Linked DNA regions of Homo sapiens: region 1 is linked to region 2. The links are contacts of gene promoters, found by promoter capture Hi-C in blood cells and fetal thymus (Javierre and others, 2016). All regions are on one chromosome and are shown on one strand. The core of a region is centred on a gene start or on the middle of the fragment in contact, and the rest is flanking DNA. Distances in the headings are between cores, read along the strand shown. Region 1 overlaps ZPBP (zona pellucida binding protein). Region 2 holds the start of SEC61G (SEC61 translocon subunit gamma).

Region 1 (5,845 bases), core at 598-3,097, 4.7 Mb before region 2:
CTATGTTTCATAACACATCTAAACAACTTGAGTATTTTCTCCAAAGGAATGTACAAGTAATCACATAATTACATGATTTATTTGGCTCAAATCAAGGGAAACTATCTTTGAGATATCCATAAAATGATAAGTACAGTGCAGTTTAAACTACAGTCCAAAAAGCTTCTCTGTTCTTCAAACTTTAAGACATTAGACCTCTTCCAGTCCTTTCTGAAATAAAAAGTATAGTGTTCTTAATAAGTTTTACAACTGGTAGAGAGTGACCTATGATAAAATACTGTATTGAAAACCATAATATAATCATAAAGTTAAAATACCAGAATTCCCTGAGAACAGTTTTTATAAAGATAAAAACCAATGTAGTAACAGGATTATATCTTTACCTGGAAATAACTACATTTATCAATACCTACTTTTCTATTATAAGAGTGAGTAAAATAAATATTGCTCCTACTTAAAGGATAAATTGAATTTCATACTATATTTTGCAATATAAACTGCAAGACCTGGCGTTGCACCTCGGAGAAGAAAAAATTTCAAATTTCAATTTCCAAATCAAACGAGCAAAAAATGACAATAAAAAATTCAATGCTTAAATGTTTCTATATTTCAACTTGCAGAGTTTCAATATAAAATGTAAAACATATTTAAAACACATGTTTCTATTACATTATGTGCTACTATTAGAGAGTGATAAAAATAAAATTTGATTGTATTTCCACTACTGGGTGCTTTTACGCCTGGATCACTTCTCTGATTATATAAGCTGCAAAACTTATTAGAATTTCTGTTGTTGAGCCCTGCTGATCCCATGAACAAATTGCACAATCGTTCCTACTTTGCTAGTGTAGTGAGGCAGAGGTTATGTCTGATCTTTCTATCCCCCATAAAACCTAGCACAGCGGCTTCCACCAAGTAGTCATTCACTAAATGAATGATGAATAATTTGTCCTAAGAAAAACACAGACTGACCCAAAGAGGAGATTAATTCTTTAAAATTACCTATTTTTGTATCAACATAAATACCACAGAAACATACAGCTGAGATCTCTTAGCTATATAAATATGAATTAAAACATATTAAAAATTAGTATTTCCTATGTTTCTTTAGCAAGTCTTTGTATAAATATATTGCTCTCCTTCATCCAAGAAAATAAAATAAGCCTGTAAGTTTCTATCCACAGGCACGATCTCAAAATAGCAATAAGATTTTTAAAAAGAAAGGAAAGAAAACATGGTAAATAGAGCAATAAAGGAAAACTTTCTCTGAGGGTATGCAAAAATGACTGAACAGATCTTCAAAATGAAAATTCATTAATCTATATTTTTTGCAAGGCAAGAAACAAAGCCAGCTAAGTTAACTGTAGTTTTTTAAAACTACAGTGTTAAAAATCAGCTTTTATCCAATCAAAAAATTAGAATAAAAGTAAAAAGTAAAATCTGTATTTCAGGATTAAAAAACAAGAAGTTGACTAGAGGAAATACTGATCAAATCAGTCATACAAACAGTATTTTTTAAGTGAGAAAAAGTAACTTTGGGGGATTATAGATGCTTTGAGAACCCCCCAAACAGTTCATTCTTAGAGTATGTCCCTGTATCAAAATAAAATATGTAAAAATGGGAACACTATCTACATTGTTAGCTCTAACTCCAAAAGGAAATCACAAGAAAAAGAATTGAGGAAATAACATAAATATGTATGAGATACAAACATTCTTTTTGTGTTGCACACAATTCAGATACATTTATTTAATTACAATAATTGAAACAAAATCCTACCTGAAACAACTTTTCCTTTAGGCCCATACCATTGGAATGATGGGTCTATCAGTTCAGCATTTCGCAGTTGTTGCGTTACACATAACACGTGTGGACTCTTTTGATGGAGCATGACATACGCTTTCACTGAAAATACAATATTTAAAATGTTCCAATAGTATTTTATCTTCTTTTCTTTCTCTATAATGTACACTTTTGTAGTTTGGGTTACATGCAATAATAAGAGTACTTTGAATTATTGCTCCTATTACTTGATAAAAACTAAATTTCATTGCATTCTATGCAATTAACATTAAAAATATATTATGTATTTGTATGTATATATGTGTATGCATGTATGTGTGTGTACATGTATCCCCAACCTTAGCATAATGTGTTAGTACTTTTCATTCAGAGCTCATATACACTAACCTGTTTTATTCTCAGAATATTATTTCAATAACAAAGTATTAAGATAATACTATATCTACACTTTATCTGTTTTGTAAAGACACCAAACATGATTAGAGCTTAAAAATTGTTTAGATTAGCAGAATAATGCATTATTCACAATGATGTAGCATGATGTACTGAATAAAAATGATAAAGTGATTAAAAAGTTAGCAAATTTATGCTTTTATTGATTTTAAATATTAAAGCATTTTGTTCCATTTGCTTTGAAATTTAAATCCTGATAAGTAAGCAAAAATAGTATCCTTTAGGAGATACAAAAGGAACCCGGTAAAGATTCCATTATTTTAAGTTTACTCATAAGTAAACTTTTAGGAAAGGTTGCAACAACCCTTTAGACTCTGCATGCCAACTCTTCACTGATACACTGTATACAAAGATTTCTGTGATCGAGTAAAATAAAGAGAATCAAAATTCTCTTTGACTTTTAAGAGACTTCCTCTAAAGTTTTACCATAAAGCATGATGTTTATTGAATGTACTTTTAGGTACATACCCTTCCACAGGTTAAGAAAGATCCCCTCTGTTCTTGGTTATTTGTTTTTATCATAAACATAAATCAGCACTGAATTTTAAGAAATGTTTGTTCTATATTGATTGAGGTGATTTTTTTCTTTTTGAGTACTTTAATGAAATGCTTGCATTAATAGATTGCCTAACTTCTTTAATAAATGCTTACCCCATAAATTTTCACTCCTCAGCATGATTTACTGGCCCTACTCTCCATGATCTTTTGCATATATCTCACTATACCTCTTTTCACACCCTCTGCCCTAACCACGCCACAGCAGCACACAGCATCATTCTTTTGTGATTTTATTGATATAAATTCCTCCTCATCTTTGGAGACTCAGCATAAGTATATCCTTTGTGCTTTGGCTTGACAGTACCTCATACCATGACTGTACCCTTCCTCTCGCCCCCACTAACCCCTGTACCTATTTCACAGCAAATATAAATGAATCCAGAAGAGTTTCCCAATGCAAGATCAACATACAAAAACAAATAATATTCCTCTACATCAACAATAATGCATTAAACCATTTTATAGGAAGGAAGATAATATTTAGAGTACAATAAACAAAAGTCACTCTATAATCAAGTAAGACCTCTGTGGGAAACATCTTCAGGCTCTAACAAAAGACATAAAATTAGACCAAAATGCCATAATCATGACTGCATACACATAACTTTAAAGATGTCAATTTATTCCCAAATTTATTTATCAACACATAAGCAAAATCCCAGAAGAAATTATTTAAGAAGCTCTTCAATACTGATTCTAAAATCCATTTGGAAGATTAAAGCTTCATAAATATCTGAAAGAATTCTATAACAGAAAAGCAAAGAGGAGGGACTAGCAATAAGAGTTACTGAGATATATTAACATTTACACTAAATAAAAAAAGAGAGGCCTGGTGTAGGAACAAATAATGGGTCTAGGGAAAAAATCAAATTGGCATAAATAACTGATATATATGTGGTAGACAAGGTACCTAAAATCACTGGAGAAAATATAGATTATCAATAAATTATAGTTAAAAGTTATCTCAAAATACATGCAAATGTAAACTTAGATTTATACCTCTTACCGTATATAAAAATAAATTCCAGGTACACTGAATAACTGAAGGCAAGTAATTATTTAAAGAAAATAATACCTTTATGTCTGAACCAGTTATAGAAAATTATCTCAATGCAAAAAGCACAAATATAAAAATACTGAACTCAACTTCTTAAATGGTAACACTTTCTGTTTGATCCTGTATAACATAGGCAAAGTTAACAAATTTGACTGTAGGGAGAGGATATTTGCAACAAAGTTAATAATGCATTTATAACTGGAATATAAACAATATGAAAAAGAACTCCTTTGAAAACAACAAAGAAAAGAATGGGTAGAGGCAACTTAATCTTCAGCTTACCAAAAATGGAAAAAGTTGGGTAAAATTTTGTGCTGATAAGGATGTGGGAAAATGGGACCCCCTCAAGCACCACTGAAGGAAGTGTGAACTGGTGCAGCCTTTTTGAAGAGCAAAGTTAGTGAGAATGAGAATGCTCAGGTCCTATGATGCTAAAACCTCTTCTCCTGGATAATACAGTCCCAGAAAACTTCTGAACATGTACCAAAAAAAAAAAAAATACAAAATGGTATTTATTACATACACCAAAAAAACAGAATAAACTAAAAGTTCAACAAAATGTAAATAAAGGCTCAGTGAATTAATTAATACATGAATTAATGAAAATGGAAAACTAACTGAACTGAAAAGAATATGTAAAAGGCGAACGAGTTAAAAAGAGGGTCACAAATCTGAAAAGTGGCCAACACAGACAGATGCCAAGACCTTACATGACAGAAGAAATGGTGGGCACAAAAAATCATGCAGTCAGTATATTATGGGCCAAAACCAATGAAATATCATATAATAATCTACTCAGTGATATAAGAACTACCTAGTCAATTGGAATGGTAATCTATTTTAAGAATAAATTTAATATTATACAATAAAAGAAAATGAAAGGGAAATTAGTTACCCAGATAACGTTTTATAATTCAGCTTTAAAAGTTGTCATTGGGGAGATCAATACAAATGGCAGAATAAGGAACTCCAAAAATTACCTCCTTCATAAAAGTCATGAGGAAAAGTGTAGAAATTATCAGAAAAAACATTTCCAGAACTCAAACTCAAAATTAATCAAATACAGCAATCCAGAAAACATTTATTCTAGAAAAACAACTGGATCTGATTTATGGGTTGATTGTGTCCTCCCTCTCTTATTAATATGTTGAAGTCCTAATCTCCAGTACTTCAGGATATAAACTTATTTAGAAATAGTCTTTACTGAGGAAGTCAGGTTAAAATGAAGTCATCAGGCTGAGTACAAATCCAATATGACTGATCTCCTTATAAAAAGGGGAAATTTGGAAACACAGACAAATACAGAGGGAAGAGGATACAGAGTGATAGGGAAAAGATGGCAATCTAAAAGCCAAAGACAAATATCTGGAACAGATTCTTTCTTCAAAGTCTTCAGAAGAAACCAACTCTGCCAATACTTTGATTTTTGATTTCTAGCCTCTATAACTGTAAGACAGTAATTTCTGTTGTTTAAGCCACCCTGTCTGTGGTTCTTTTGTTCCAGCATCCCTAAGGAACTAATTAAAATCAGTAGGAACAGTGAGCTTGTAGTATTTTAACGTGCCTGATTCCCATGCCTCCTTCTCCAGCTCTGCAATAAGGAGCCATGACAACCAACAGTTTACAATCACAGTGAGAACCAGCAGCCTGGCAGCCAATGAAGGGGGCAGGCATGGTAAGAATGCCTTCAAAGCCTCCCTCCCAGAGTACTATCAGTATGCGAACTGTCAGTCAACATCCTGGAAGACCTCGTATTAAAGGCTGCCCGTACTTGACCTGATTTGGACTTTGCCTACTGCACAAAGCCTTTTCCCCAAAAGAATTCGTTAAAAACAATTAGAGGCCCTCATTTAACTTTGTGACTGCCTGATACACTGAGCAACAATTGGGGAAAACAATAGGTTAACCAAAAACCTTAAGAGGAAAAGCTGGGGAATGTCATATCCACAGGAACTTTGACTTGTTCTGAACAT
Region 2 (5,865 bases), core at 1,404-3,903:
AGGCAGAATTGCTTGAACCCAGGAGGCGGAGGTTGCAGTGAGCCGAGATCGCGTCACTGCACTTCAGCCTGGGCAACAGAGTGAGACTCTGTCTGAGTTGAGCACAATTTTATAAAACATTACACTGGTAATGTTGTCATTTTATGTTACTTCCTAAGAGAAGCTTTCCCTGATCTCCTGACTTGGTTAGTCCTCCTATTATGTGCTGTCAAACTTCCTTCTAGTTATCTTCCATAATACTTAACACAGCAGTAATTAAAAAATATAACCGCAATAATTTGTTTATGACAGTCTTCCTTGGTAAGAGTCTAAGCTCCATGACAGCAAGGACTATTCTCTTTACTATAATATATACATGTTATATACTATATTATATACTATATACTATACTATATATATACTATATACTATATATACTATATACTATATACTATATTATATACTATATACTATATTATATACATGTTATATTCTCTATTATATTACCAGCTCCTAACTCAATGAATGAATAAAAGTAGACAAATTTAACACATGAATCATGATAAATAACAAAATTAACTTTCTAGTTTGGCAAAAACTATATTGTTGGTTTCATGTTAAGGTTTTGTTCGTTGGGGTGGGAGCTGAGTAGGGAGACTTCAAAGCTTTTCCAAAGAGAAAATATGTAAGATACTAAAAGTCATAAAATGTTACTAACTAAAATGTTACATGGAACATAAGGCTGTAATAAATAATCTTACACCATTTGAAAATACATAAAAATTTAGACGAGTAAAAAATTTAGGAAGAAGTGACAACGTTAAAAAGCTGTCGCGCAGGATCAATCAATAAAAATGTTGATCAAAGTAATGCAAGGGCTATTAATCAAGATGTTAATCAAACAAAAGGCTTAGAAAATGCAAAGATTTAATTTTTTCTCTCATAGTCAAGCAATTACCTTTTCTATCAGGTTTAGTGCATCTTTTAACCAGCCGAATGGAGTCCTTTACAAACTGCCGACTTGGCTCAACAAACTGCATTACCTGATCCATGACTGCCTGTTTAAAACAAAAAAGATACTCACTGGTATTGGTTCTCATACAATAAGCACTTGCTCATTTATATAAAGATGTAAATGAGACCAGCCACTGAATTCACGTCTAACATGGGTCAATTCCACCTCCTAAAATAAAACAAAAAACAAACTCCAAAGCCTAAATTGATATTATTTTTGGAAATTTCAGTTAATTATCAAAGGCAATAAGAAAAGCACAGATCTTACTCATGATATCTTCACTGACAAAGAACAGCACACGCAATATAAAAAGCCTATCTCTATTAAAAGGTTAAAAAAGGTTACGCAATTGGTAACACATCCATTCCTTTTCTCACTCTGCAGTCCCATCCATTTCTCATTCTACAGTCCCCTCACCGCTCCTAAGGAACCATCAGTGTTGAGATCCAACAATTACTTTCCATATTTTATTTTAAACTACGCAGAAGCCAGTGTCTTGTACAGTGAATGCCAACTACGGTGCTGCAAGAGCCTAGAATAGAGGCAAACGTGAATTTCAACCTTGATTTTTCTAAAACGTGCCAATACAACATACTTTTCTAAAGTATAAAGAATGGCTAAAGGAAGACGCAAATTCTGAGAAGCTACTAGCTAAATTTCAAACTTTTCGATTTGAACACATCTTTTAAGGAAACAGGGCTATATATTTTACCATACAGGTTCTTTTGAGGAATCTATTACCCAATAGAAATGTTATCCGATCTTAGCTTTGAGAGCCACTGCTATAGTAAGTAAAGCAGCCAGGGTGTTATTTGTATTTTCCTCCATTTCCAGTACTCAGAACAGTGGCCAGGTGGTAGTTCAAATCACTGGCTATGGAATGTAAACCTCTGTAAGCCCCAGTTGCCTTCCTTAGTGTAGGGTGTGGACAACGAAATGAAATAATGTCAATGAAACACCAGGAATTCTGCAACGTTCTGGGGGCAAAAACACAGTAATGTCTGTTTTCTCAGTATTTCACTCAACTTTGCTCTTGAAATCCAAAGGGCTTAAACTTTTTGTAATCATAGTTGTCACGAAGGAAGCTAAGAATTCTTTATCCAGAAAAACGCACGCTACACACAATACCGCACTCAATGTCAGGGGTAGAGATCCAAAAACCAACTATGATCTCTCGAACTAGACTCTAGACCAATGCTCTCACTTTAAACCACGGAAGCGGCGGCAGGACCAGAGCTGAGTACAGCTCTTCCCAGACAGGACTCCACAACAGCACACAGAGCCAACCCCGAAGGGATCGGGCAGCAGGACATCATCTTTGGCTGCAGCACAGAAGACGCCGGGGCAGGACGCTAAGCCCTGGAGCCCCGCGGGCCGGCCACCCAGCTCGCCGGGAGTCCGCGGCCCTGGGTCTGCCTTCCGCCAGAGGCCGAGTTGGTGGGATGTCGGCGGCCAGACCCCGGCCCTGAGCCAGGGGACCACTTACCGCCCGCCCCGCGACGGCCGCCCGGGGAGACACGCCGGCTCGCCCACGCCCGCTGCCCCCAAGAGTCGCAAAGGTGTGGCCGCCCCGTTCGCCCGTACCGACCGGTGGGAAGAAACTCACCTACCCAACCGACACCTAAAATGCCAGGGACACGTAGCACTGGAGCTTGCTGATGGAGGCCCACCGGAACCGGAATCCGGGTTTCTGCCAACAGCCCGCCCACTCCTCCGTCCTATTGGTTCCTTACGCGAAACCTCAGTGCGCAAGCGCAGCGCGACGTGCGCCCGGCCACGCTTCCTGGAAGAGATGCATTGCGGAGCTCGCTAGTTGGGGCGTTGGCCTTCCTTAGGAGTGTGAGTCTAGCGTTATCCCTTTTTTCCGGCTGGATCCCGGGTTACCCCACCAGCCCGACCTCAACCCACTCACGTCCACAGCACGAGCCCCAGCGGCCTTGCGCGGTGCTTGCTCTCTAGTAGCGGCTGACTAGGTAAATCCTAAGTTGTGGTTTTTTTTCCTGCGGTCCAGCTTGATGTGTGTCCTTACGGTACATACTTTTTGTATGTATATAATGTTGGTCGAAATGAAGCTTATGAGCAATATAATGTTATGGCCTAATTCAAAATAGTATCCCCACCCCAAACTTTGACTTTGGCTGTCATTCACGGTAATGAATGCCGCTGTAATTGAGGCCTTTGTCAAACGCTAGGTTTGGTTACGGGAGTGGTCATAATGTACACACAGCTCCCCACTTACCCACAAGGATGCATTCCAGGAACCCCCCGCCGGATGGCTGAAACCGTCAGTAGAGACGGGGTTTCACCATATTGGCCAGGCTGGTCTTGAACTCCTGACCTCGCGATCCACCCGCCTCGGCCTCCCAAAGTGCTGGGATTACAGACGTGAGCCACCGCGCCCGGCCATGTTTCCTTTTAGCAATGGAGCATAACGGGATCTGAGGAACAATATAACTCAGGAAGAGCTGATGGAACATTAAGACGTGTTACAACTCTCAGTGCTTCTTAAACTTCTTCAGTAACTGAAATCTCCTGTTAAGTTTTTTAGTAAATGAAATTTGTAACCCCAGAACCTCCAGATATTGATTCAGTGGGTCAGGGTTAGAGGTCACACACCTCCGTATATCTGACTGTAGGTGGTCCATACACACTACACATACCTTGCCTTAGCTTTAAGAGTCACTTTTAAATTCTGAACAGACTGAGATGCGTTTGACTAGTTCTTCATCCCTGGGACTTCAGCCCATGTGTCATCTCCTTAGAGGCCTATAGTGACCATCTAAGGCAATCCTGTCTATCTCATGCTCTTTTTTCCTTTTTCACAATACCTTCTTCATTTGCTGCATAGCATTTGTATTAACATTTATTTATTTATTCCTCGGTCTGTCTCCCTACACTGTAAATCCCCTTACTAGACCATAAGCTCCAAGTGGGTATAATATAGCATCTAGTAAAGTGCTAAACACAGTAAATGCTCAATAAATAATTTTCAAAAAAATAATTCATTCCAAAAAAACATAAAATCACATGTTGGCAAGTTCACCCCAACCACCAAATGTCTGAGTTGACAGTATTTTCAGCAAAACACAGAAAATCAAGTAACACATACAGTGGTTCCCCTTATCCAAGAAAATCTGGTTCAAAAAGAGATGTGTACCAGAAGGTAATCTGGGAGAGGCCACATTCAAATAACTTTCATTACAGTGTATTGTTATAATTGTCTACTCACCTGATTTCGGGAGTTTGAGACCAGCCAGACCAACGTGGAGAAACCCCGTCTCCACTAAAAATACAAAAATTAGTCTGGAATGGTGTCGCATGCCTGTAACCCTAGCTACTCAGGAGGCTGAGGCAAGAGAATCCCTTGAACCCGGGAGGTGGAGGTTGCAGTGAGCTGAGGTCACACGACTGCACTCCAGCCTGGGCAACAGAGCAAGACTCCGTCTGTAAAAAAAAAAAAAAAAAAAAACAGGCTGATAACAGCAAATCTGTGCAAAAATACGTAACAATCAGAACTCTAGAACTCTAATTCCTGGTTACTAGGAGTGTAAAATGGCATAACCCTTTTGGGAAAAGTTTAGTAGTTTATCATAATATGAAGCATATATACACCACCTATGGCTCCACAATTCCAATTCCAGGTACTTATTGAAGATATATGAAACTAAATTCACAGAAAGACTTGTACAGGAATGTTCGTAGTAACTTTATTGATAACAGAACTAAAAGCAACAGGGTACCATCAATAGAATGAATAAACATACAGGTATAGTCCCACAACAGAATAGTACTCCATAGCTAAGGAAAGAAAACTCTCTGCCACAACATTGATGAATGACAAACATGGTGAGTGAAACAAGCCTACGCTAAAGAAGGCACAGTGTGCAGTTCCATTTGCAAGAAATTTTAGACAAAGCAAAAATAATGAATGGTGGAAAAAATCAGAACAGTGTTTGCCCGGGGCTACATATTGAGAAGGCGGGTGAGGGAACTGGGGAGTGAATGTAATGCTCTGTAATTTAACAGGTCTTAGGGTTTCACAGGGGTCTTAGTCAACGTGGGCAGCTATAACAGAGTATCATAGAGTGGTGGCTTACACAACAAACATTTATTTCTCACAGTTCTGGAGACTGGAAGTCAGAGATAATGGTCAGGTTCTTGTGAAGGCTTTTACTGGTTTATAGATAGCTACTTTCTCATTGCATTCTCACATTGCGGGAGATGGAGGAAGAGAGAAAGAAAGGACCAGCTCTCCTCCTGGTCGTAAGAACACTAATCCCAACATGGGGCTTCAGCCTCCTGACCTAATTACCTCCCAGAAGCCCCTCATCCAAATGCCATCACATTTGGGCTTCCACATATGAATTTGGAGGCGCACAAACATTCCATCCATAGCAGCAGGTCTGTGCCTTTTTCCTCAAAAAAAAAAAAAAAAAAAAAAAACCTCAACAAGTATTGAGCTCTAGTTAATTATACAATTGTCGATGCATTTAGGAGGGAAATGTACAGGTATCTACAACTTATTTTGATTTTAAAAAGGGCAGGTTCATGGTTAGAGGAATAAACTGGTGATAATGCAAATACAACAAAATGTTAAATGTAGACTTAGTTGTGGTGTAAGATGTTCATTGAATAATTCTTTCAATTTTTCTGTATGTTTAAAAATGTTTATAAGATGGAAAAAAGTCAATATATAGATCACCAAATCAAGTTTTAAAAATTTTGACATAAATTGTACTGAGTGTAAATTGAATGTATATATAGCAGAAATTTTAAATTGCCCCTCAATTTAAAAATACATGAAATATTAATAATATCGTTTGAGATAAGCTGAATTAATATTCCATTTATATTCTTGAATCTCTGCCTGA

What was found. The method cuts DNA at HindIII sites, captures the fragments that hold promoters and counts their contacts. A CHiCAGO score of 5 or more calls a contact.
Region 1: a fragment that was not itself captured here is called in contact with the fragment with the promoter of SEC61G in region 2 in 2 of 17 cell types (total B cells and naive CD4 T cells); the score reaches 6.5 in total B cells.

The regions. Positions count from the first base shown.
Region 1 is chr7:50,079,994-50,085,838 of GRCh38, forward strand. It overlaps ZPBP (zona pellucida binding protein), which reads right to left. Exons shown (of 8, transcript NM_007009.3): 3 at 1,781-1,906. Among named protein-coding and RNA genes, the nearest start is that of ZPBP, 10 kb to the right of the region's middle. The HindIII fragment of the contact is 3,374 bases long and covers 161-3,534 here.
Region 2 is chr7:54,756,558-54,762,422 of GRCh38, forward strand. It overlaps SEC61G (SEC61 translocon subunit gamma), which reads right to left and starts at 2,654. Exons shown (of 4, transcript NM_014302.4): 1 at 2,601-2,654; 2 at 938-1,037. The coding sequence starts at 1,031. SEC61G-DT (SEC61G divergent transcript) reads left to right here and starts at 2,756. Exons shown (of 3, transcript NR_110040.1): 1 at 2,756-2,967. RefSeq lists a silencer at 2,304-2,623 and an enhancer at 2,857-3,792. The HindIII fragment of the contact is 2,422 bases long and covers 643-3,064 here.